Linked DNA regions of Homo sapiens: all the other regions are linked to region 1. The links are contacts of gene promoters, found by promoter capture Hi-C in human tissues and cell types (Jung and others, 2019). All regions are on one chromosome and are shown on one strand. The core of a region is centred on a gene start or on the middle of the fragment in contact, and the rest is flanking DNA. Distances in the headings are between cores, read along the strand shown.

What was found. The method cuts DNA at HindIII sites, captures the fragments that hold promoters and counts their contacts. A contact is called where the count stands out against the background at its distance.
Region 2: a contact is called between a fragment that was not itself captured here and the fragment with the promoter of RGS19 in region 1, in 2 of the 25 tissues and cell types used here (dorsolateral prefrontal cortex and mesendoderm cells).
Region 3: a fragment that was not itself captured here is called in contact with the fragment with the promoter of RGS19 in region 1 in 1 of the 25 tissues and cell types used here (lymphoblastoid cells).
Region 4: a fragment that was not itself captured here is called in contact with the fragment with the promoter of RGS19 in region 1 in 2 of the 25 tissues and cell types used here (bladder and lymphoblastoid cells).
Region 5: a fragment that was not itself captured here is called in contact with the fragment with the promoter of RGS19 in region 1 in 2 of the 25 tissues and cell types used here (IMR-90 fibroblasts and lymphoblastoid cells).

What each region holds. Positions count from the first base shown.
Region 1 is chr20:64,076,970-64,081,321 of GRCh38, reverse strand. It overlaps RGS19 (regulator of G protein signaling 19), which reads left to right and starts at 1,804. Exons shown (of 6, transcript NM_005873.3): 1 at 1,804-2,028. It overlaps OPRL1 (opioid related nociceptin receptor 1), which reads right to left and starts at 1,240. Exons shown (of 5, transcript NM_182647.4): 1 at 970-1,240. It overlaps MIR6813 (microRNA 6813), which reads left to right and starts at 4,312; the gene lies at 4,312-4,352. RefSeq lists silencers at 656-829, 1,223-1,902. The HindIII fragment of the contact is 4,418 bases long and covers 1-2,480 here.
Region 2 is chr20:64,259,390-64,263,741 of GRCh38, reverse strand. It overlaps PCMTD2 (protein-L-isoaspartate (D-aspartate) O-methyltransferase domain containing 2), which reads right to left. Exons shown (of 6, transcript NM_018257.3): 2 at 3,470-3,800. The coding sequence starts at 3,776. Among named protein-coding and RNA genes, the nearest start is that of PCMTD2, 5.8 kb to the right of the region's middle. The HindIII fragment of the contact is 3,110 bases long and covers 951-4,060 here.
Region 3 is chr20:64,241,006-64,245,357 of GRCh38, reverse strand. It overlaps MYT1 (myelin transcription factor 1), which reads right to left. Exons shown (of 23, transcript NM_004535.3): 23 at 3,105-4,352. Among named protein-coding and RNA genes, the nearest start is that of PCMTD2, 13 kb to the left of the region's middle. RefSeq lists an enhancer at 297-797. The HindIII fragment of the contact is 9,977 bases long and covers 1-4,352 here.
Region 4 is chr20:63,912,058-63,916,409 of GRCh38, reverse strand. All of the region lies in intron 1 of DNAJC5 (DnaJ heat shock protein family (Hsp40) member C5), which reads right to left. Among named protein-coding and RNA genes, the nearest start is that of MIR941-1, 5.2 kb to the left of the region's middle. RefSeq lists an enhancer at 3,633-4,133. The HindIII fragment of the contact is 7,543 bases long and covers 1-4,352 here.
Region 5 is chr20:64,219,243-64,223,594 of GRCh38, reverse strand. It overlaps MYT1 (myelin transcription factor 1), which reads right to left. Exons shown (of 23, transcript NM_004535.3): 13 at 3,613-3,882; 14 at 1,548-1,702; 15 at 422-484; 16 at 236-304. Among named protein-coding and RNA genes, the nearest start is that of PCMTD2, 34 kb to the left of the region's middle. RefSeq lists an enhancer at 1-57. The HindIII fragment of the contact is 5,217 bases long and covers 1-4,352 here.

The DNA of each region.
Region 1 (4,352 bases), core at 555-3,054:
ACCGCTCAGGAGTGTTATGTGGGCTGAATAAGTAGCAGCCTGCCTCTTGTCCCTGTGGGCTTCCTGGCCCCTGCCTTTCCTTGCCTGGCCTGACAACATGGCAGTCACAGGGTTCTGGGTACAGCTTCGAGAGGCAGCCTGTCTGTCCTCCAGGGCCCTCTGACCTCTGACCTCCCCCTTCGGGCCCCCGCCCCCGCTCAGCAGCGCAATACCCTCCCCTCCTCAGCCCTCCCCCCTCTCACCCAGGCCTTCCCTGCCTGCTCCCCACAACTCACTCTGCGCCCCCCAGCATAAGATCCAGGCTGATCTATGTTGCTGGCTTCTGGTCCTACTGCCTGGCCCACAGGGGCACCCAGATACTGATACTTGTCCGTTGAATGAGGAATACAAGTAGAATCTCCAGCTGCCTTTGCACCCCTCAGAGTTCTGTGAAGGTGTAAGGTGTGCACCTGACCTGTGCAACTGGAAGGCATTTTATGAACAGATCCCGACACTGGGAACTATCCGGGTGGAGTGCTTGTGCTGGGGAGGACAGGAGCTGCACACAGCCGGGCCAGGGGAGGGGCGGGGGGCACAGATGCTCTGCAGACACTTCCAGAGCAGGGTCAGGGCCACCCTGACACAGGGCCAAAGCATGCTGCGATGAGAAGCCTAACCCACGTCTGTACCGAGTCATAAAGGATGAGAAGAGTCGGCCAAAGGGACAGGGCGTTCGTGGCAAAGGGGACAGTGTGGCCTTAAGCTTTAGGACATCTTGGGACACACGGGTCAGCAGGGACTCTGCCAGGCCCCACAGGAGACATTCGGCATGACTCCGGATGCAAGAACCCGCACCCCCAGTTCTCCCCAGCCCCGCAGCACAGGAATCTCCCCCTTCCTTGGGAACCCCCCACAGCACAGACAGGCGGCTCTTAACCCAGTTTTACAGACGCGGCTCACGGAGGCGAGGGGTGGGCCGGGCTGGCGTACCCGCCGATCGGTCCTTTGCAGCAGCCTCCTCTTTCCCAAGCTGGGCAAGCAGCATATGGGGCCCAGCTCTCGTGCCTCCACTGTCGTGGAAGTCCCACACGGATGGCAAAGCAGGAACGGCCCCGCCGAGCAGAGTCGGGGGCCACGGCCACACCCCCATCTACTACCGTGCGGCTCCGTCCGCCCGGGAGCCAGGGCTCCACTATGAGCACCTCGACTCTCCGGGCCACCCCCAGGCGACTGTGGGGGCCGACGCGCGGGCGGGGCGGGTGGGGTGCGGAGCCGGCCGAGCGCGGGGCGGGGCGCGGCGGGCGGGGCGGGCCCGGCGACCGCCGGCGCGAGGAAGTCCCGGCCCCTGGCTTTGGGGAAGTGCCGCCGAGGCGCCTGCGCACTGCGCCCCCGCGCCCCCTCCCCGACTGTCGGGCCGGACCTTGGAGCGCGCGGGCCGGCGGCGGCGCGAGTGGCTCGGGAGCGCGGCTGGTGAGTGCGCGCGCGCAGCGCCGGGGACAGCGGCCCTGCCCCTCCCGGCCCGGGCCCGGGGACCGTGCTGGGCGGGAGCTTCGGGAGCCGGCGCACGGGACTCGAACCCCAAGGGCTCCCGCCGCCAGGTCCACGTGGACCCTGGGCCGCAGTGGAAGTGGAGCCCGCCCCCCGCGCGTGGGGGAGGGGGCGCCGCAGCCGGGTTCCCCTTTTTCTGGAGCTCAAAGCCTGGGGAAGTGATTGCTCAAAGGTGGGGGCCGGAAGAACCCAGGTTTCCGCGTCTCCCTCCCCCTCTCAGCCCGGTGAGGAGGGGCCGGGGCGGGACACCCTGTCCGCCCCCGCCCCCACCCCGCTGGATCTGGCAGCCACTCAGCCCTTCGAGCTGTAGGGGAGGCGCTGCGCCCCCGGCCCCAGCCGATCGGGGGCTCCTGGCGCTAGCCTCCCTCCAGAGCGCCGCAGGAGTCCCTCCTGCCGTCTGACTTGAGTCCCTGCTGCTGCAGTGCACGCCCCTTCGGCAGCCAGGGTGGGGCCCAGACCCAACCTGGCCCCTCCTGCCCCCACCCCGCCTTTGGGTCGCTGGTGAGTAGGGAGCTTTGAGGTAGGGGTGGGGGCGTCAGAGGCTGAAGAAAGAGGCACCTGGAGGAGAACACAGGCTTCTCCAGACTGGACCCTAACAGCAGAGAGAGGAGCGTGGTGGGTGGGCCACCACCACCATTTCAGAGGTGGGGAGAGCTGGCCTTCCCTGGAGGGGCCAGGCCAGGGCTCGCCCACCAGCCAGATGTGGAGGGTGGCAGATGGGAAAGGCCCTGGGTAGGAGCTAAGGACTGAGAATGGAGCCCCTCTTCAACCCCCCTCCCAAAGGTTATGACATTTTTTTCTGGGATTGTCACATTTTCTTATTCTTTTTTTGGACTGGGCAGGCTCTGGGACGTTCTTTTTCCTTCTGTGGAGCAAAGCGGCAGCCACTCCCAAGGGATCCTCTATCCCCAGAGAGCAGACGTGCCGCCTATCCAGCCTATCCCATCCCAGACTTGGGGGCCAAAGCCTGGGAGGCTGGGGAAGGGGGTCCCCAATGCCAGGTTGACAAGCAGGAGGACCCTAGTTGAGACTCTGTATCCCCCAGGAGAGACGGGGGGAGGGTAGCCTGGGGACATGGGTTGCCCCAGTTGACCTGAGAAGGGTACAGGAAGCCAGGTCCAGGGACAGGTGACCAGGTCCAGGGCCTGCAACTGGGAAAGAAGGGGCTGGCTCCCTGCTCTGCAGCAAATGCAGCCCCTAGCACCCCGGCCCTGCACCCCTAAACACGTCCCCTCCTCCAGTTCAGAGCTGGGGTGGAGATGGTAGCCCAGGGGGACAGTCTCAGGGGTGCTAGAGTGTGGGGGAGGACCCTGGGTGGGGACAGAGAGGAGGAAGAACTGCTGCCTGGGGAAGCCACAGACAGCCCCGTCTGGGTACAGCTACCAAACCTCAGGTTGCCACGCCCCTTCCTTTCCCTAGAAACTTGACCCCTGAAAGAAAGCCCAGCTGCAGGGCTACTTTCGGTCTCCTCATCTACTTGCTAGGAGCCCGTGGGACCCCCAGTCTCAGAGGAAACTGGGCCGGTGGTGAGGGGCCAAGGTCCCAGGGGATGCTGCACCTGCCCCAGACTTGGGCCAGGGCAGTGGCCTCTGCATGCCCAGGCCTCGGGGGTATTGGGGGCCCTAAGAGTGCAGAACTCCAGCACTGTCTCTTCTGAGGGCCATTCACACACCGTCCCAGGAGGCCAAGAGAAGCCAACCAGCCAGAAACAAGCATTCAAAGGCCACGAGCTAGGGGAGGCGTGGCGGGGGGATGAAGATTGAGAAAATAAAGTAGAATCAAGTTGTGAGCTTCCTGGCCAGGGAGGGTGGCGGCACATGAGGAGGGTGGCGGATGTGCACGGAGGCCCCTCCCTGCCCTGGGCAGAAGTGGGCGCAGGTGTTCACAACTGCCTCCGGGGCACTGATTGGCCCCCCTGTACCATCGCCCAAGGAGACTTGGGATTCGAAGTGGCATCTTAGGTGGCATGAGGGCCACTCACAGCTTTGGCGCTCCTGGTGCACCTCCCCTGCAGACGGTGCAACCAAATGCTGGGAGGGACATGCACCACACCACACCCCCCTCAGGGACTCCGAGGCTTCGACTGGGGAGCAGGGTGCCCCCCACCCCTGCCACCCCCACTTCCCTGGCTGGCGCACCCTGTGGTAGGGCCTTGGTTCCACAGCAGTTTCACAGCCTAGAGGCAGTGGGCAAGGAGGGAGGGAAGTCTTGGGTGGGAGGTAGCAGGACCAAAGAACCATGTTTGGGGGGCATGTCCCTCCTCACCGGGGCCCTGCCCCCCTTCCCACACCCTCAGCAAGTCCAGCCTGAGTCCCACTTAAATCCTCACTGCTGCAGGTCTAGCCTGCTGCCCCTGGCTGAGACCTCTGGGACCCACAGACAGACCTGGACTCTTGGTGGGAAGCCACTCTGCCCACTCCCCACCCCAGACACCCTAGAAGCCAGTCTGGCCACCACCCGCACGCACCAGTTGGTAGCCCCAGACTCTCGGGGCCCCTTTGGGAGGGGCTGGGAGCCGGAAACCAAGAAAGAGGAACCCAGGCTTCCGGCTTCCCAGGGAGTGAGCGGATGGGGGTGTCTCGGAACCTCCAGTGGGGGCCTCATCTGGGGCCCAGCCTGGGAGGAGGGGCCAGAAGCTGCTGCAGCTCCCTCCTCAATGATCCTGGACCCCCTCCCAGCCCTGCTGTAAGCTTGGGGTCGGGGTAGAAGCCCTAGGCAGAGCTGGGTCCAGAGGCAGGAGCAGGCCCCGCTAGGGAGACACCCTCTCAGGACCCCTCCTAAGGGGTAGGCAGGGGCTGGGGTTTCAGGTTCTCAGTCAGAACCTT
Region 2 (4,352 bases), core at 1,256-3,755, 180 kb before region 1:
TGCAACACTGGTGAACTTTCTAGGAGGAGGAGGGGGCATGGGAGCCTTTTGGGGTGCTGATTCAACTCTGCATCTTGCTGTGGCTGGAGTTTATATGGCGGTGGATGCATATGTAAAAGTCCACCAGAATTCACACTTCACACTTGTTCATTTACTATGGGTAAGTTACACGTCAACTTTTTAAATCTACATGTAAAAATCACAAGGCACGTAGGACTTTACTTGGTAGACAGATATACTACTACAGTGATCATGTAGCACTGGACCCTACAATCTAACAGAAATGCTAAGAAATGGGCAACCTTCTGTGCATCCCACACCTTTGCACCGTGTGGGCCCTCCTAGTACAACAGCCACCAGCCCAGGCCAAGGCTTCCCTGGCCCCCATTTGGACAACTGTACCTGCTGCTCTTTTCTCTCCACGTATTTCATACACAGAGCTGCTGCTAAAACATTACCTCGTCAAAATACACCCTACCTGAGAGTTCCCCTTTTCACTGTTTACAACATCAAATCCTGAATTACTCTGAACGTCAAGACCTTCTGACAACTCCGACTTCAATTCCCGACTCTGCCAGAGACCAAAAATAGCGCTTGATTCTTCCCACTCATCTTATTTTCACTGACCCCTCACCTTCACTATCAAACACTTAATAAGCAGTTAATTCTAGTAACAGATATGAGATATGGTTCCTATTCCCAAGAAGCTTAACACCAAACAGTAGTAACACAAATACCTCGACCCACCTGCTTAATACAAAGATGACTAGCAGGGGAGGAGGACACAGGGTGGCCGGGGGGTGTCAGGAACACGGCACCTGGGACTCAGCACTGGAGCACGGCATGAAACCAGAGCAGCGAGGCCCCCCTGGCAGAGCCGCTCCTAGGTCTGCCCTGCTTCCGAATCACCCAGCACTTTTCAGGTAGGTGACTTATGAGCCACCATCTCTTAGTAGCTACTGTATTCTCCCCTGGTTGATGACAAACAAAGGTAAGGACAGCCCTGAGCAAAGGGGAGAGGAGCCCACAGAGCAAGCACAGGAACAGGGCTGACCCAGGATGCCGCTCAGGCCATGCGAAAGGCAGTCGGGGGTCACAGTAAAGAACTCCGTCAGATGAGAGACCCACATCCACAGGCGCCGGGAAGCCAATGAGGTTTCACTCTGGAGTGCTCTGCACCAAGTGCTATTAAGCTTGAATAAAAGCTGCAGCATCTGGAGACACAGCCAAGACACGCATCCATGACAGCAAACCCTGAAGTCACTTCCTTCAACTGCATCAAAGCAGCATGTTACATCCATTACAGCAGAAAACAGGCCTTTCCTTCCTTCAGACCTCTCTCCTCCCAAAATCCAATGAAATTTCCAGTAAACAGGGGATTCAGGAAAGAAAAGCAACTGTATCAAGTTGGAAGGCCTTTCCTTATAACTTCTAGGGGATGTCAAGTACAGCAAGGCCATTTCAGGCTTACTTTTTTTTTTTCTTTTTGAGATGGAGTCTGGCTCCGTTAGCCAGACTGGAGTGCAGTGGCACCATCTCTGCTCACTGTAACCTTCGCCTCCCAGGTTCAAGTGATTCTCCAGCCTCAGCCTCCTGAGTAGCTGGGATTATAGGTGTGCACCACCACACCCAGGTACTTTCTTATACTTTTGGTAGGGACAGGGTTTCACCACGTTGGCCAGGTTGGTCTTGAACTCCAGACCTCAAGCCATCTGCCTGCCTCGGCCTCCCAAAGTGCTGAGATTACAGGCGTGAGCCACCACGCCCCACCATTTCAGGCTTACTTTAAGTCATCTTTTCCTAAGCATTTTGGCTCTTTCCTATAGTATTTCTAATCTAGTCAGCTTGATCACCTATTTCTCCCCAAGGTTCTACCTTAGCTATAGCCCCTATTTTTCAGCTACGTTGGAGGAAATCACAATTCCCAAATTCAAAAATGATAAATAATCTGGGCACTGTGTTCTCTTCTCAAAGCACAGGGATCACAACAGTCTCAATTGAAGAGAAGTTACGGTCAAAAAGCATTATAAAAATCTACACACTTTTACACCTGAAGGTAGCAATCTATAGCATAAAGCCAAAATAATCGGTCTCAAAACTTCACCAAATTCCAATTTATACAGACTTAGAAAAAAAAAACAAAATTATCATTCCATATCCACAAAAATCAATTATAGACGGAGTCTCACTGTCACCTAGGCTGGAGTGCAGTGGTGCAATCATAGCTCACTGCAATCTTGAAGCGATCAAGCGATCCTCCGACCTCGGCTTCCCAAAGGGCTGGGATTACAGGCATGAACCACCAAGCCAAGCCACATTCCTGACGTTTCTTTCACAAGCATATACAGTCCACCCGTAAATCCTGTCAGTTCTAACAGGATTTAGAAAAAATACAGACTCCAGCTTCTCTGCACTGGTTTCATCCAGCGTCTTCTCAGCCAGCTTTGCCTCAGCAGCCTGGCCCCTGCTTCCTGTTTACAGATCAGCTCCTATCACCCCTCCGGCAAAACTTTTCCACCCTACTGAGTTAAAAACAGATGCCTTCCCCGCCCCTCACAGCATTTGGCACCAAGTGATGTTTTTCCTTAGTTATCTGCTATTATTAAAAATAGCCATATTTCCATGTGCAGTCTCACAACTCATTTGTTTGGAAAATAGGCTAAATAGCTTCATAGTGAAATCCCTTCCATCCCTGAAACTAATTTTAAAATCTACAGGTATTACTCTTAGTATTAAAACAAAAAAGTAGGCCAGGCATGGTGGCTCATGCCTGTAATCCCAGCACTTTGGGAGGCTGAGGCAGGTGGAGAGCTGGCGCCCAGGAGTTTGAGACCAGCCTGGGAAACATGGCGAGACCCCGTCTCTAAAAATCATTTAAACATCAGCCAGGGGTGGTGGTGCGTGCCTGTGGCCCTAGGTACTCAGGAGGATTTGCTGGATCCCAGGAGGTCAAGGCTACAGTGGGCCTTGCTCGTGTCACGGCACTCCAGCCTAGACGATGGGGCACAACTGTCAAAAAAAAAAAAAAAAAAAAACCAACAAAACAAAAACTGCTTAGAAGTACTCCGAAAGGACTTTCAAGTTAATTACCATCGATTTAGAGAAGGAGTGACAAGGAAGAATGAGTGATAAAATTAAATCGAGAAATCACAGTGGGGTCAAGATTTACACAACTGTCTTTATCCTCCGCTGTCCAGAGGGCAGGTGCGCAGTACAGGCTGTGGCAGCACAGGAAGAGGGGACAGAGAACAGGAGAGGTCCCTCTGGAGAATCCGGGGCCCATGAGATGCATGCAGGCCTTCCTCCCTCATCCCTCTATCCACCACCCAGTGATGTGTCAATGTCAGATAACTACTGGGAAGGCTGCGGTCTCGACCCAGGCAGGCCATTAGCAGACTACATTTTCTGTCAAAGGAGATGCCTCCTTCCCTGAGACAGATGAGTTTTCAGACTCTCCTTCCACACTTACCTAGAATGAGGCCCACCATGGAGCTGAGATACCCAGTGCCACTGCCCAGGTTCAGAAACGAGAGTCCAGGCTGCAGATCTAGGGCTTCCATCACCTCCGAGTAGATGCACGGGGCTGAGAGGTGAATGTTTCCATGCTTCCATGCCAAGTCTTTATAAGCATTTTCTTTAAATTCTTCAAGATAATAGTCTGCACGATCGATAGCTCTGAAAGCCTGCTCTACCAGCTCAGTCCGGATATACTGTGCTTCTTTCAAATTATCTATCAGCTCATCATTGTCTTCACCAGCACTCACAGCACCGCCCATGTTCAAGATTACACTTAGGCAATACTATAATTAAAAATGTTTAAAAAGAGCGATTTATGTTAAAGGTAAGAGCAGAACAATAGAAGTTCTAAACAGATACCAATTTGAAATTCTGAATTCTGAAAATAATAGATTATCTTTTGTCAACACCCACCTCATCCCCTGCCCCACCCAGAGATGCCAGATTTAGAAGGAAAAAAAATCCCAGTTCAATTGGAAATTAAGGTAAACAACAATACTAAAAGTTATTTGACGTTTATTTGAAATTCAAATTTAGGCCGGGTGCGGTGGGTCATGACTGTAATCCCAGCACTTTGGGAGGCCGAGGCAGTTGGATCACCTGAGGTCAGGAGTTCAAGAACAGCCTGGCCAACATGGTGAAACCCCGTCTCTACTAAAAAATACAAAAATTAGCCAGGCATGCTGGTGGATGCCTGTAATCCCAGCTACTGGCGAGGCTGAGGGAGAAGAATCACTTGAACCCGGGAGGCAGAGGTTGCAGTGATCAGAGCTCGTACCACTGCACTCCAGCTTGCGGAACAGAGCAAGACTCTGTCTCAAAAAAAAAAAAAAAAA
Region 3 (4,352 bases), core at 745-3,244, 160 kb before region 1:
AGACAGCTCAGGAAACTGTGATGCCAGTTACTGGGAGGGGCTCTCTAGGAGCTCAGGGGAGTCACTGTGTCCACATGCTGGGCAGGGCACAGACTGTGCTGTTGTGCACGTATCCCTGCGTGGCTTTCCCCAGGATCCAAAATAACCATCCATTCTTCCCCCACATCATACACCTGCCCTAGTCAGGGCTGCTCTATGGTTGGCCCCATGGGGTGGCACATAGCACAAGCTGGGTGCTCCACAGGGGCATTCACATTCATGTGGCACATCAGGCAGTTGTGGCCCCTGTTGGCAACTCCCGTATGGCCATGTGACCTTCAGCTGGGTGAGTGAAGACCAGGGGCTGATGGGGGTTGGTATCTTGCTGGGCCCAGAGAGGACCAGGTGGGCGTAGCGAGCAGGCTGTTGTGGTCACCCAGGCATGTGTCCTGATGCCTCTGGGGCATCCAAGTGCATACCCAGAAGGTACTAGAGCCAGGGAAGAAAGGATTGGGGGACAGTATGGGAGTTCTCTGCACACAGCAGACATCAGCCTTGGGAATGAGAAGAAAGGGGCTGGGACATAGGCTGGGACAGCCCTGAGGCAGCTGCAGGGTAGGGTGGAAATCAGGAAGGAGGAGAGGCCAGGAGCACATAAGCAGGTGGGAGGAAGATACAGTAGAGGGAGAGGAGGAGGCAGCCATAGCAGGTGCTGGAAGAGGAGAGGCCAGGCTTTAGAAAAGTCAGCACACACGGAGACCTGCATGCTGCAGACACTGAGAGGAAAGAAAGAGAGGCAGAGACAATGGGAGCAGCCAGGAGGGATGGTAGGGTTGGGGTGCAGTGAGGGCCAGAGTGGCTCAGAGCATAGCTCTGCCAAAGGTCAGCTGCCTGGCACCAGCCCAGGCCACCCACGATCATGGATAAGGGTGCCCTTGTGAAGACTTAAGACTCCATTAGAGAAGTCCACACTCCACCTCCATATTTTAAGAAGGACAGAGGGAATGGCACAGATGCTATAACCCCTGGGAGCATGGATGGCCTGTGTTGCAGGATTCACAATCAGCTGACAGTTAGGAAACCCTCCACATCCATGTCTTTAGCAGCCTCTGAGAGGCTACTGGCTTCAGGGAGACAGAGTGGTTAATAGGAAAAATCTCACCTGAACTTGAGGCTTCCCTTACTCATGGGGTGATGTCGACCCAGCACTAAGCTGACTTCCCGTCTGTTCAGGGAGACAGTCGTGTGCTCATCAACTGGAAGCATACCCATTCAGGTAAGGAAAGCAGGTGCACATGTGTATTTACCTTTGTTCTCTCTTACACCTGCCTAAAATGACAGATTTTAAGGCATACATTGGCAGGAGTGAGGAGATGAAAGAGGGGACAACAATGCAATTTAGAAGCCAGAAAATTCACAGATGCAAAATAAATGGCCTAGGAGACACAAAACACTGAATTCTAGCCAGAGTGTAGAAAGTTCAGAGCCAACACCGTCCATACCTCAGAACCCCCAATAACTGGTAGCACCAGATTCTGTTGGAGATGGGAGAAGACAACTGGTAGAAAGTGTTTCGGGAGCCAGTAGCCCCCTTCCCCAGAACTCCACCCCGACTCTGAGAGCCTGGCAAACACTCCCCTCCCTCTGGATGAAACCTTGAGCTTTATCCTCTGGATACAGTAAACAGGAGGGTCTGCAGGCTGGTAGAGAAGGCCTAGCTGTGGGGTCCCATACCAAAAATAAATCCTAAGAGAGCACATGCCTGTGACTTTAGACGCTCTTTCTCTCAGCTCCCAGTAGGCTGGTGGCCCAGCCAGTGCCTCTAAGCGAAAAGTGAGAGAATCTTCTTGGGGGTGACCAGCTCGTGCCATTATCAAACTATGGGATTGTGCAGCTTTCTAACATCATGGTAACAGCCTGTGTCCCCTAGCAGGAACATCATAGTCCCCACCTCTCCAGCCAACTCTCATACCCCCCAGAATGACTTTACCTCAGCTTGCTGAGGGGACACTTCAGAATCGGTCTTGCTCACACCCACCCCAGCATCTGCTGTGCTGACGTGAAGGGGTACAACTCCAGGCCACTGGTCTCCCCATCACAAATGGGGCCTCACCAAAGGGGACCCCCAGGAACCCTTCCTCACAGTTGAACATGTTCTGCATAACCCACCAGTGGGCACTGGCACCTGCTTGGGCCCCCACAACCAGCAGTTGGAGCCTTGAAGGCAGATCAAATGTCCTCCACAGGTGTTGTGGACCCTGTCTGACTACAGCAGAGGGTGGAAACTCAGTCCAGAATTTCTAAGAATTTGTCAGTGAAGATGGATCCTTTGTTTGCATATCAGATGGACGCTCCAGGACTACCACCAGGGCCAGATTCCAGGGAGGTCAAAAGCATGTTGACAGTTTAGGCTGAATGTGACTAGAAGTCCCAAGTCCAGGTCTTACTCTAGGAGCACTAGAGCTCCACCTGACACAAAAGTACGAAAATGAAAAAGGGGAGAAGTCTCTTTTTTTTTTTAAAGCTGGTATGCATTGGCTTTTTGGCCTTGTATACCAGCTTAAAAAAAAAAATAAACCATTGCCTTATATAACTGGGCAGTTCAAGGGTGGAGTGCCTTCAGACATGGCTGGGTCCATGAGCTCTAAAAAGATCATCAGAGAGCTCCCTTTTCCTTCACATCTACCTCCATTGTCAGCTTTGCCCCCCTCCAGAATGTCTGAACTCTCTCCTACTACTGATGGCTTCATCCTGTGGCCAGGAGAGATAGCCCAGGGCAACCCCAGTTCCACACCCCCAAGTCTAACAACCTCAGCAGGAAAAGTTATTCTCCCTGACCCTAAGAGAAGACTCCTGGGAAAAACTTCAATTTGCATATGACTGGTCATGTGGGAAGGGGCAAGATACAATGATTTACACCTTCTAGAAACACACGTGGAGGCGGTGAGGTAGGGTAGTTTCAAAAGGAGATACTGGCTAAGCTGACACCAGAGGGGACCCACGTGTGGTATCAAGGGGAGACCAGAGATGGAAGATTCCCCTCCTGGGCATGTGCTCCCAGGAGGGTGCATGATAGAGCTCACCAAGAATGGAGACAATGTCCTCCCCACAGACCACAGCACCGATTCACAGTCAGAGTGGACTTTTATTAGGAAATCACCCTGCAAACACACCACGGAGTGCTGTGGGTTCAACGCGCTTCCTGAGGAAGGAGGGTCACAGTATTGGAGCTGTCGGAGGGACGGGTGGCACAGCCTGTGAGCCTGGCGGTGACTCGAGGCTGCCTGCGGCCAGCACTCCCTCACAGCAACAGGACTCCACCGCAAGAGCCGACACGCAAACGCGACACGAGAAACACGCCCAAGCACACACATCTGCGCTACACTTAAATAATAATAAATACAGAATTCCATTTGCTGTTATCCGTGCCTGAAACAAAAGGAACCCAAAATGGAAAAAGAAAACCAAAATGTCTTTCTCTCCATTAGACCAAGGGAAAACAAAATCCCCAAATTATCAAAATTCCTCAGTTACAAAATACTTTTTAAAAAAATTCCATTATTAAAAGAATAAATAACAAAATATATAAAAAATAACTTGGTTGCATCAAAATTATAACTAGGAGTTATATCAAGATTTTTTGTGGCCTATATTATAGTCAAATAGTTATTTTTGCTTTGAATTCACTTTTTTCCCCTCTTAGGGTGCCCTGGTGTGGGGTCTAGTTGAAATAGTATAAAATTAATAAATAAAAATGTTAAATAAATAGCAAACGTTAACATAAGAGGCTGTGAATATAAATACTTACATCTTGACAAAATTAAATAATTTACAGAATAATTAAACTAACTACTTTTTAATTTTTTCCAGGAAGTGCAATTTCTCTATTTTTAAATACTAACTTGGAATTGCAGTCACAATTGACTTGGATTCTATTTACACGGTAGGGACATTGTGTTTTTAACACATTAAATTAAAATGTACCCTTTTTTCGCATATTGGATGGATCTAAAAGAAGTGAAACCTTTGTGGTCTCCTGTTAGGAATTTACCCTCTGACCTTGATGATGTCATTGCCACCTCCGTCACCATGGATGCAGAGGTCAAGCTCGGCCATGACCCGGAGAATGTGGCAGTGATGGGTCGGGGGCCTGGGTGGATGCACAGAAGCCAGAGTGGTCCCTAGACGTGGATCCCAGACCCAGGGTCTAAAGGCTGCAGCCCCAGTAGGGAGCTGTGACCCAAGGCCATACACATCTGCACAGCCTCAGCGCCAGCTGCCCCCAGACATTAGGCTGATTTTCAGGAGTCTCCCAGGTTAAAATTCCTTGACCTGACAGGGGCTGCGATGCTTGTCAACTGTCTGGAGTATCC
Region 4 (4,352 bases), core at 594-3,093, 160 kb after region 1:
GCTCAGGCGGGCATCGCGGCCCTACCGATATGTGATGTCACCCGGGGGGCCCAGCTGTAAAATTCCTCTCTTTGTACTCTTTCTCTTTATTTCTCAGCTGGCCGACACTTATGGAAAATAGAAAGAACCTACATTGAAATATTGGGGGCGGGTTCCCCCGATAACCAGGCATGATGGCTCATGCCCGGAATCCTAGCACTTTTGGAGGCTGAGGAATGCAGATTGCTTGAGGCCAGGAGTTTGAGACCAGCCTGACCAACACGGCAAAACCCCATCTCTACTAAAAATACAAAAATTAGCCAGGCATAATTAGCCAGGCATGGTGGTGCACGCCTGTAATCCCAGCTACTTGGGAGGCTGAGGCAGGAAAATCGCTTGAACCCAGGAGGCAGAGGTTGCAGTGAGCCGAGATCGCACCACTGCCCTCCAGTCTGAGTGACAAAGCGAGACTCTGCCTCAAAATATTAATAATAATGACATGGGTTTGTATTTTATGTTCTGTGATTTCCTTTACTAGCTAGTCACTTTTGTTGTAGTTTACAAAAATATCATCAGTCTGTGACACTGGAAATTTTAAAAACTTAAACCTTGTCCTTCAGCACAAACAGTCGAGGAAGAATTCTTCTGGTGTATACCTAAGAGTGGAACTTCTGGGTGCCCAAGAATGGGCAGGCTCAGCCTGAGGCGGTGTGCCAACTGCTCTCTGAGGACTGCACCAGTGGCCACTGGAACTTAGGGCTCCCTGCCATTCCTGCAGCCTCAACAATGACTGGTACGGCCAGGCTCCCCAGTGCTTGCCTGGCCTGATAAGGGTAGGCGTCTCCAGCCTACCTTCAAGGCCGTTCTGTCTGTGGTGCCCAGTGGACATATCCAGGACACCGACCCTTCACTGGTTAAAAATGTTACAAGTATCTTCCAGTTCACAGTTCTTTTTTTACTTATTATGGTGTGTCTTTTGATGAGCACAAGCTTTTTTTTTTTTTTTTACCAATTGTAGTAAAAAACATATAACATTAAATTCAGCATCTGAACCGTTTAAATGCCCCAGTGTTCACTACACGCCCGTCGCTGAACAACAGCCCTCCTCCAAGTCACCTTTGAGGTCACAGAATATATTACAGCTTTCTGAATCTCTCAATCTGTTTTTCCCCTTTTTTGTTCAAGAAATCCTTCCTGACCCTAAGGTCCTATTCTATCTTCTGACACTTGTCACCCACAGGAATCTGCTTCATCAGGAGTTGGCCTGGGCTTGGCAAGAGATACGGACCAGCTCCTATCTGCCTGAGGCCCACCCAGTGCCCCAGGTCCCAGGAGCATCCATGGAGCAGCCCGTCTCTCCCTGGGACCCACAGGTGCCTCTGGCTTACTGCAAACCTCCACGCAGGAGGCCTATCAGGGGCTCTCCATTTTGCTCCATTTTGAGCGTTCTTTATTTAAAAACCTCTGAAATTATCTGAGGCCATTTCCAAAACTTTTACAAAAGCTACACACTCTGGCCGGGCGTGGTGGTTCACACCTGTAATCCCAACATTTTGGTAGGCCGAGGAGGGCAGATCACCTGAGGTCAGGAGTTTGAGACCAGCCTGGGCAACACAGTGAAACCCCATCTCTGCTAAAAATACAGAAATTAGCAGGGCGTGGTGGCAGGTGCCTGTAATCCCAGCTACTCAGCAGGCTGAAGCAGAAGAATCGTTTGAACTAGGGAGGTGGAGGCTGCAGTGAGCCAAGATCACGCCACCACACTCCAGCCTGGGCGACAGAGCGAGACTCCATCTACCAAAAAAAAAAAAAAAGGCCGGGCACGGTGGTTCATGCCTGTAATCCCAGCACTTTGGGAGGCCGAGGCGGGTGGATCACGAGGTCAGGAGATCGAGACCATCCTGGGTAACGTCGTGAAACCCCGTCTCTACAAAAAATACCAAAAAAAATTAGCCAGGTATGGTGGTAGGCGCCTGTAGTCCCAGCGACTCGGAAGACTGAGGCGGGAGAATCGCGTGAACCCAGGAGGGGGAGCTTGCAGTGAGCGGAGATCGCGCCACTACACTCCAGCCTGGGCAACAGAGCAAGACTCCGTCTCAAAAAAGCTAAAAATTCTTTGGCATTTCTAACCACATCATAGATAATAGTACTTAAAATAATATTTCAACATAAGCATTCCATTATGAAGCCCAGAAGGGTTTTAACAACAATTACAAGGTAAACCCTGTGGGTCACAGCACCTCCACGGTTCTGAGTTCTGGGCTGTAAGGACTGAAGTCTGGGCGCCACTTTCACCAAGAGACAGAAGCAGGCGTCAGGGCTGCTCTAAGGTACTCGGCCAACGGTGAGCGTCCCGGCTTCTCACTACTGCCTCGCTCTCTCCCCAGCCTCCTGTGGTCCCCCCAAGATGGTGGCTGGGCAGGTGGCCTCAAGAGACACTGCCTGAGGGGTGGGAGGATGGAGTGCTCAGAGAGAGACATTCCAGGCCACAAAGATCACACATCCTGCAATGGACGGTCTGAATATACAGATGCTAAGAAGGTGGCTGTTAGGGCCTGGCGCGGTGGCTCACGCCTGCAATCCCAGCACTTTGGGAGGCCAAGGTGGGCGGATCCCCTGAGGTCAGGAGTTTGAGACCAGGTGGTCAACATGGTGAAACCCTATCTGTACTAAAAATACAAAATTAGCTGGGCGTGGTCGTAGGTGCCCGCAATCCCTACTGTAAGCTACTTGGGAGGCTGAGGCAGGAGAATCACTTGAACCCAGGAGGTGGAGGTTGCAGTGAGCCAAGATGGCACCACTGCACTCCAGCTTGGGCAACAAAGAGACCCTGTCTCAACAATAAATAAAAAATAAAAATACAAAAATCAGCCAGGTATGGTAGTGCACGCCTATAGTCCCAGCTACTCAGAAGACTGAGGCGGGAGAATCACTTGAACCCAGGAGGCAGAGGCTGCAGTGAGCTGAGACCGCACCACTGCACTCCAGCCTGGGCAACAGAGCGAGACTCTGTCTCACTAAAAAAAAAAAAAGAAAGAAAAAAAACAGGCTGTTAGGAACCCTGGACCCTGGGGCAAGGGGAACAACTCTAGAAAGAACAGATGACGTCTGAGGAGAAGCGGGAGGAGAGGGAAGGAGACAACAGGTGCTGCGGACTGCAGGGAGTGGGGCAAAGACAAGTCACCTAAGGAAACAAAGGAAACACGGAGGAACTACCAAGAGCGACAGTCACACTGGGATGGGGAAGACACAGCAGGGGCTGGGTCAGCAAACGGGCATGACACAGCACAGGGAACTGCAAAGAAGGCACCAGCAAACACCTCTGGGAGAGACAGTGCAGACAGGGAGATGGAGACGGGGCAGGGAACTACCTCTTTGCTCTAGATGCCCTTGGCTCATTCTATACAAAAAAAAAAAATTGCTAAAAATACAAATACGAAAAATAAAATACAACTGGCATTTCTTTTATCCTGCTGGGGAATCTTAATTTAAAATCTGTGATGAACCATGTAAAAACTGACTGCCGGCCGGGCACGGTGGCCAAACCTGTCATCCCAGCACTTTGGGAGGCCAAGGTGGCCAGATCACGAGGTCAGGAGATCAAGACCATCCTGGCCAACATGGTGAAACCCCGTCTCAACTAAAAAATACAAAAATTAGCTGGACGTGGTGGCAGGCGCCTGTAGTCCCAGCTACTCGTGAGGCTGAGTCACAAGAATCGCTTGAACCCGGGAGTTGGAGGTTGCAGTGAGCTGAGATCACGCCACTGCACTCCAGCCTGCAGCCTGGGCGACAGAGCGAGACTCCGTCTCAAAAACAAACAAACAAAAACCTGACTGCCAAAGGATACTCAGACAGGTAGGTCAGGCAAGGGAAGGACTGACAATCAGAGCATGCTAGGGACAGGGACTTGGAACACAGTTAAAAGGGTAAAAGCCCCACAGTTTGAATGTGTATTTCTGGATTTTTATTTGGAATAGATATTATCTATTCCAAAAAAAACCCAATTAACTCTGTAAATACATTTGAAGAAATTATAAACAAGAGTCAACAAAGCAAGCTAGAGAAAAGACGCTGTGTGCCACATCACAGGTGTCCCTCACCTTTACTCTTTTTTTTTTTTTTTTGGAGACCGATTCTCACTCTGTCGCCCACGCTGGAGTGCAGTAGTGCACTTTCAGCTCACTGCAACCTCCGCCTCCCGGGTTCAAGCGATTCTCCTGCCTCAGCTTCCCGAGTAGCTGGGATCACAGGCATCTGCCGCCATGCCCAGATAATTTTTGTATTGTTAGCAGAGATGAGGTTTTGCTATATTGGCCAGGTTGGACTCAAACTCCCGGCCTCAAGTGATCCGCCCACCTCAGCCTCCCAAA
Region 5 (4,352 bases), core at 590-3,089, 140 kb before region 1:
AGCCCCCAGCGGAGAGGCAAACAGCAGAGCTCAGAGCAGGTGCACACAGGCAGAGCAGCCCCAGCCAAGCAGAATCGGCCCCTCCACGGCCCTGCCCCTCTGCCCATCTCAGGAGAGCTGGGGCCAGCTGAGGCTTGGCACCTTGGAGAAGGCTGATTTTGGCAGGAGCCTCATGGAAGGAGAGCAAAGCGAGGGTGCCGCCCAAGAGACAGGAGGTCAGGGAGCGCAAACATACTTGAGGTCAGCAGAGTGGGCAGCCATGAGGTTTCTGAGGCTCTTGTCAGCAAGAGGGCAACCAGAGAGGCTGAAAGAGAAGAGATGGGATATTGGGGTAAGCCAAAGAGGGAGAGCAGAGGAGGAGGAGAGGAGGAAGACCCACCACGAAGCACCCAGGCCAGACGGACCCGAGCAGGAGACAAACCTGCGGTGGGAGGCGTAGTTCCCGGTGATGTGGCCGCTGCCGTCACAGCCAGGGGTGGGACAGCTGGACAAAGGAAAAAGAGTGTCAGACCGGAGAGTGGTGTGTACCTGCCCCCCAGGCTGAGCCTGCTCTGCGAGGGAGACTGGTGCCCACTCCTGGCTCACCCGCGAGCCAAGCGGTGGCCCCTCCTCCACTCAGTCCTTGGAGGACAGCCGGTGCCTCTCAGGCTGGAAGTTTCTCCCACACAACTTAACTCAAGAAGAAAAAGTAACCAAATTAAAGTTGAGCTTAAAGTTAGGATGCCTCTGACGCACATGTGCTGTGTGTGCACGTGTATGTGCCCACGAATATTTAGGCAGAGGAGCTCCTTCCCTTCTCCAGGCCCTGAAGCAAGGCCTTCCCTGGATCCAGCCACTCCCAGGAGGGCAAGCTACAAGTGTGAGGGTACAAGAGGGGTTCAGGTTGGGGAGAAGAGGGACCCCAGAAATGTACTCTGAGCACATGTGAGAGCTGGATCACCTGTGGAGCAGGTGCCAGGCACAGCCTCTCACAGTCCCCTAGGACAGGTGGCTGGCAATGAAGGCTGACCAGAAGGTCATTGACATCTGATTCATATCCATCAGCAACTCTGTCTGTTCCAACCCCATGCGGACCAGCTCAGACACGCAGCCTCTGGGCCAGCCAGGCTGACAGAGTTGAGGGTGGTGAGCCCTAAGGCAGTACATTCCAGGCCTTGGCCATGGAGCCCAGGGCAGAACGTGCCCAGCTGCGGCCTCAGGGAGAGGGCCAGGCCTCTGGGTGCCCCGAGGGCTTCCTGCAGAGCTCTCTGAGGAGCTCTCCTCCACTCTGCCCCTGCCCTGCTCTGTCCTGCTTGGTGAGCTTGGCCAGGGGATTTCTTTGTTCTTAATCACTTTTAGAAGATTGCAGTAAAGCCCAGCACAACACAAAGGTGTTGGGAAACCTCTGAATACCCTGGCTCCTGTCACAGGCTGCCTGGCTCGAGGTGGTCAGGACAGGTCGGGGAAAGCCTGAGCAGACCCGGTCGTCATGGGTTGGGACCAGGGCCTGTTCCTCCCCAGGCCACAGAGGGTCCCCTAGGAGCTGTGCCAGCCAAACAGGGACTTACGTGAGCAGCTCCTTCTTTATGTCCTTGGAGAGAAACTTCAGCTTAAAGTTGGTCAGGGTGACTTCCCCCGGATACTTCCGCTCCTCAAAATTCTCTTCCGACACTTCCTGGTCATCTGCTTCAGAAGAAGCAAAAGAATGGGCTGCTGGCTCTGACTGCAAAAAACCAGCAGGAAGATGTTTTAACCGGCTGGCGGGGAGGCCTGGGCGCCCAACCCAGTGGGCGAGGGAGAGGGACCCTTCAGGACAGTGTCCACAGAAGCATCTCCCGGAGTCTCCTATCTTCTGGATAAGGGAGGAAGACTTAACTCCCCCCAGCAAAACACAGAAGACAACACCCCTGAGGGGCTGGATCCCTCCCCTGCTTCAGCCAGAGGTCCTGCGTTGCCCTAGAAATGAGGCCTGGTGCTGCCCAGTGTGGCAGGCTCCTGACACCCTCCCTGGCCTCCCTCCGCCACATCACTCCGCAGCGTAAACATCAGGATACAGTTCCCTTCAGAGCCAGGGATGGCACTCAATAGACAGTAGGCACTAAATAAGTGTTACCGAAATGCCATGAAGATGAGATGGCACAACGAGGGTAATAACATACAAATTACAACAATCGCAGTAACCTCGAAACCACCTGGCCCGACACGCCCACCAGTGCGATGCCTTGACCACAGCAGGTGCTTGATAAAGGCTTCGAACTGAATGCTGGGTATGGAGGCTCAGAGCTGTGGACACAGATAAGCAGGGCGTAGTCCCTCCCACGGAGGGGCCAGGGGTCCAGGAAGGGTCAGAAGGCCAACATTCTGCAGGATGCTGTAACCAGAGCTCAAAATCCTGTCCTGACAGGCACTCGCATGTGTCCCAGGCAAGTGGCTCAGGCTCTTGGGGCCCAGGTGCCACTCTGTCCAACTTGAGATAACAGCAGCCCCTCAAAGGTTTTTGGGGGTCAAATGAGGAAATGCCCGTGAAGCCCACAGCCCAGCATAATAACAGTCTTCGGATAATTGGACCTCGTTGTGGGTTCCCAGGCTGCTCGTCTATGAAATGGGGTGACCTGAGGGTGGTGTGAGGGCCGGTAAGGAAGTCTGCCTCCCACTGAGGCCGGATTGTGGAGGGGGCCTGATCCAGCCCCCACCCTTCATAGGGGCCTGATCCAGCCCCCACCCTTCATAGGGGCCTGATCCAGCCCCCACCCTTCATAGGGGCCTGATCCAGCCCCTACCCTTCATAGGGGCCTGATCCAGCCCCCACCCTTCATAGGGGCCTAGCCCCACCCCCCTCATTCCTCCTTGAGGGTCTGGCCCTGCTCCTTCCACAGGGACCCCTTCCACCTCCTGAGGGGCTTTGGGGGAGGGGAAGGAGAGGGAGAGGGGCCTGCTAGTCTCACACACGCGGCTGCTGCCGCCTGGACCCTGGGCTGCCCTCACAGCTGGACTTTGCTCTTCAGGACACACACCTCCTTGGGAAAAAGCCCAGAACCGGCTGTGGCCTCGGAGGATTCTTCTTTCACATGTTTTAAGGAACTAAAAAGGGAAGGATCCCCTGCTTCCCAGACCACAGTTCCAGCACCCATGCCAGGTTGGTCCTGGTCTCGGGGACGTAGAACTGCCCACCATGGGCGATCCTAAGCCCAGGTCCTAAGCTCTCTCACTGGCTCTGCCCCTACCCGGACAGCAGGTTAGCTCTGCAGGGTGGTGGGAGGCTCAAAACCCAAGAAACCTGAGCTTTTCCCCAATCAACTCCTGGGATCTGAACGATGCCTTTCTCCTCCCCATGCCTCCACAGTGCCCACGTTGGTGCTGGCCACCATGCTCCACAGGGGTGAGAAGACCACCTCCTTCTTGACAGACAAGGGCACAGCATGACCCTGCTGCTGAAAATCCCACCCAGAGGGTGAGCCCCTGAGTCCCAGCTGCTCAGAAGATGAAGGACCCTTCACGAAAAGGGATGGCTCCCCGAGGCTCTTCCAGAAGCCTGTGAGGAGAAGCTTCCTTGAAAAGCCAATATCACAACAGCCTCAGGCAGGGCAAGCTGGCTGCAGCCGCCTGACTGCTTGCCCAGGCGCCTGCACCCACCTCCTCAGGTTCCTCCTCTCTCAGGCGGCTAGGCTTGGTGTAGTCCAGGGGCCGGTCCCACTCGTCCTGGCGGGAGGCCTGGCTGGACTGGGGAGAGGTCATGGAGCTGCTGGGGGCGCTGGTGCTGCTGTGGCGCTGGGAGGCGTCGGGAGACTTCACACCGGGGCTGCTGCTGCAGCTGCTGCTGCTGGGGAAAGCATTTTCTCGTTTGCGGTGTTTGTGCATGCTCAAGTCCAGGGTTCCATTTTCGTCTACCTCGATATCCACAGACTGCAATGGCAAAGGTGAGATCTGTTAGCGATTCCATCCCTTCCCATGTGTGCCTTCTGGTCCATTTGAATCAAACGTACAGAGTCCAGAACACTGGTTCCCATAGAAGGAAGCAGGACAACGGGGACAGACAGGCAGCGAGAGGGAAAAAATCCAGCTGCCATTTCCTGATTTCCCATGAAGGGGGCCCTACAATTCCTCTTGCCTCCCAACAGCACAAAAACCAGTCCCTCAGGACATGTCATAAACACGGGTAAGACTAGGTCCTCTGAGCAAGGAGAGTGTGTCAGCAACCACAAGACTGCGGGAAACACGTGTGAACAGGGCACGTGCACCGCCCTGGAGTCAGAAGGAAACACATGGGCATGTGTGTGCACCACCCTCAGGCTCAGAGGGAGACACGCGGGCGCATGGTGTGCACACAACCTAACACGTGGGAACTTGTGTTCGCAGCCCTTGGTCCCCCTTCA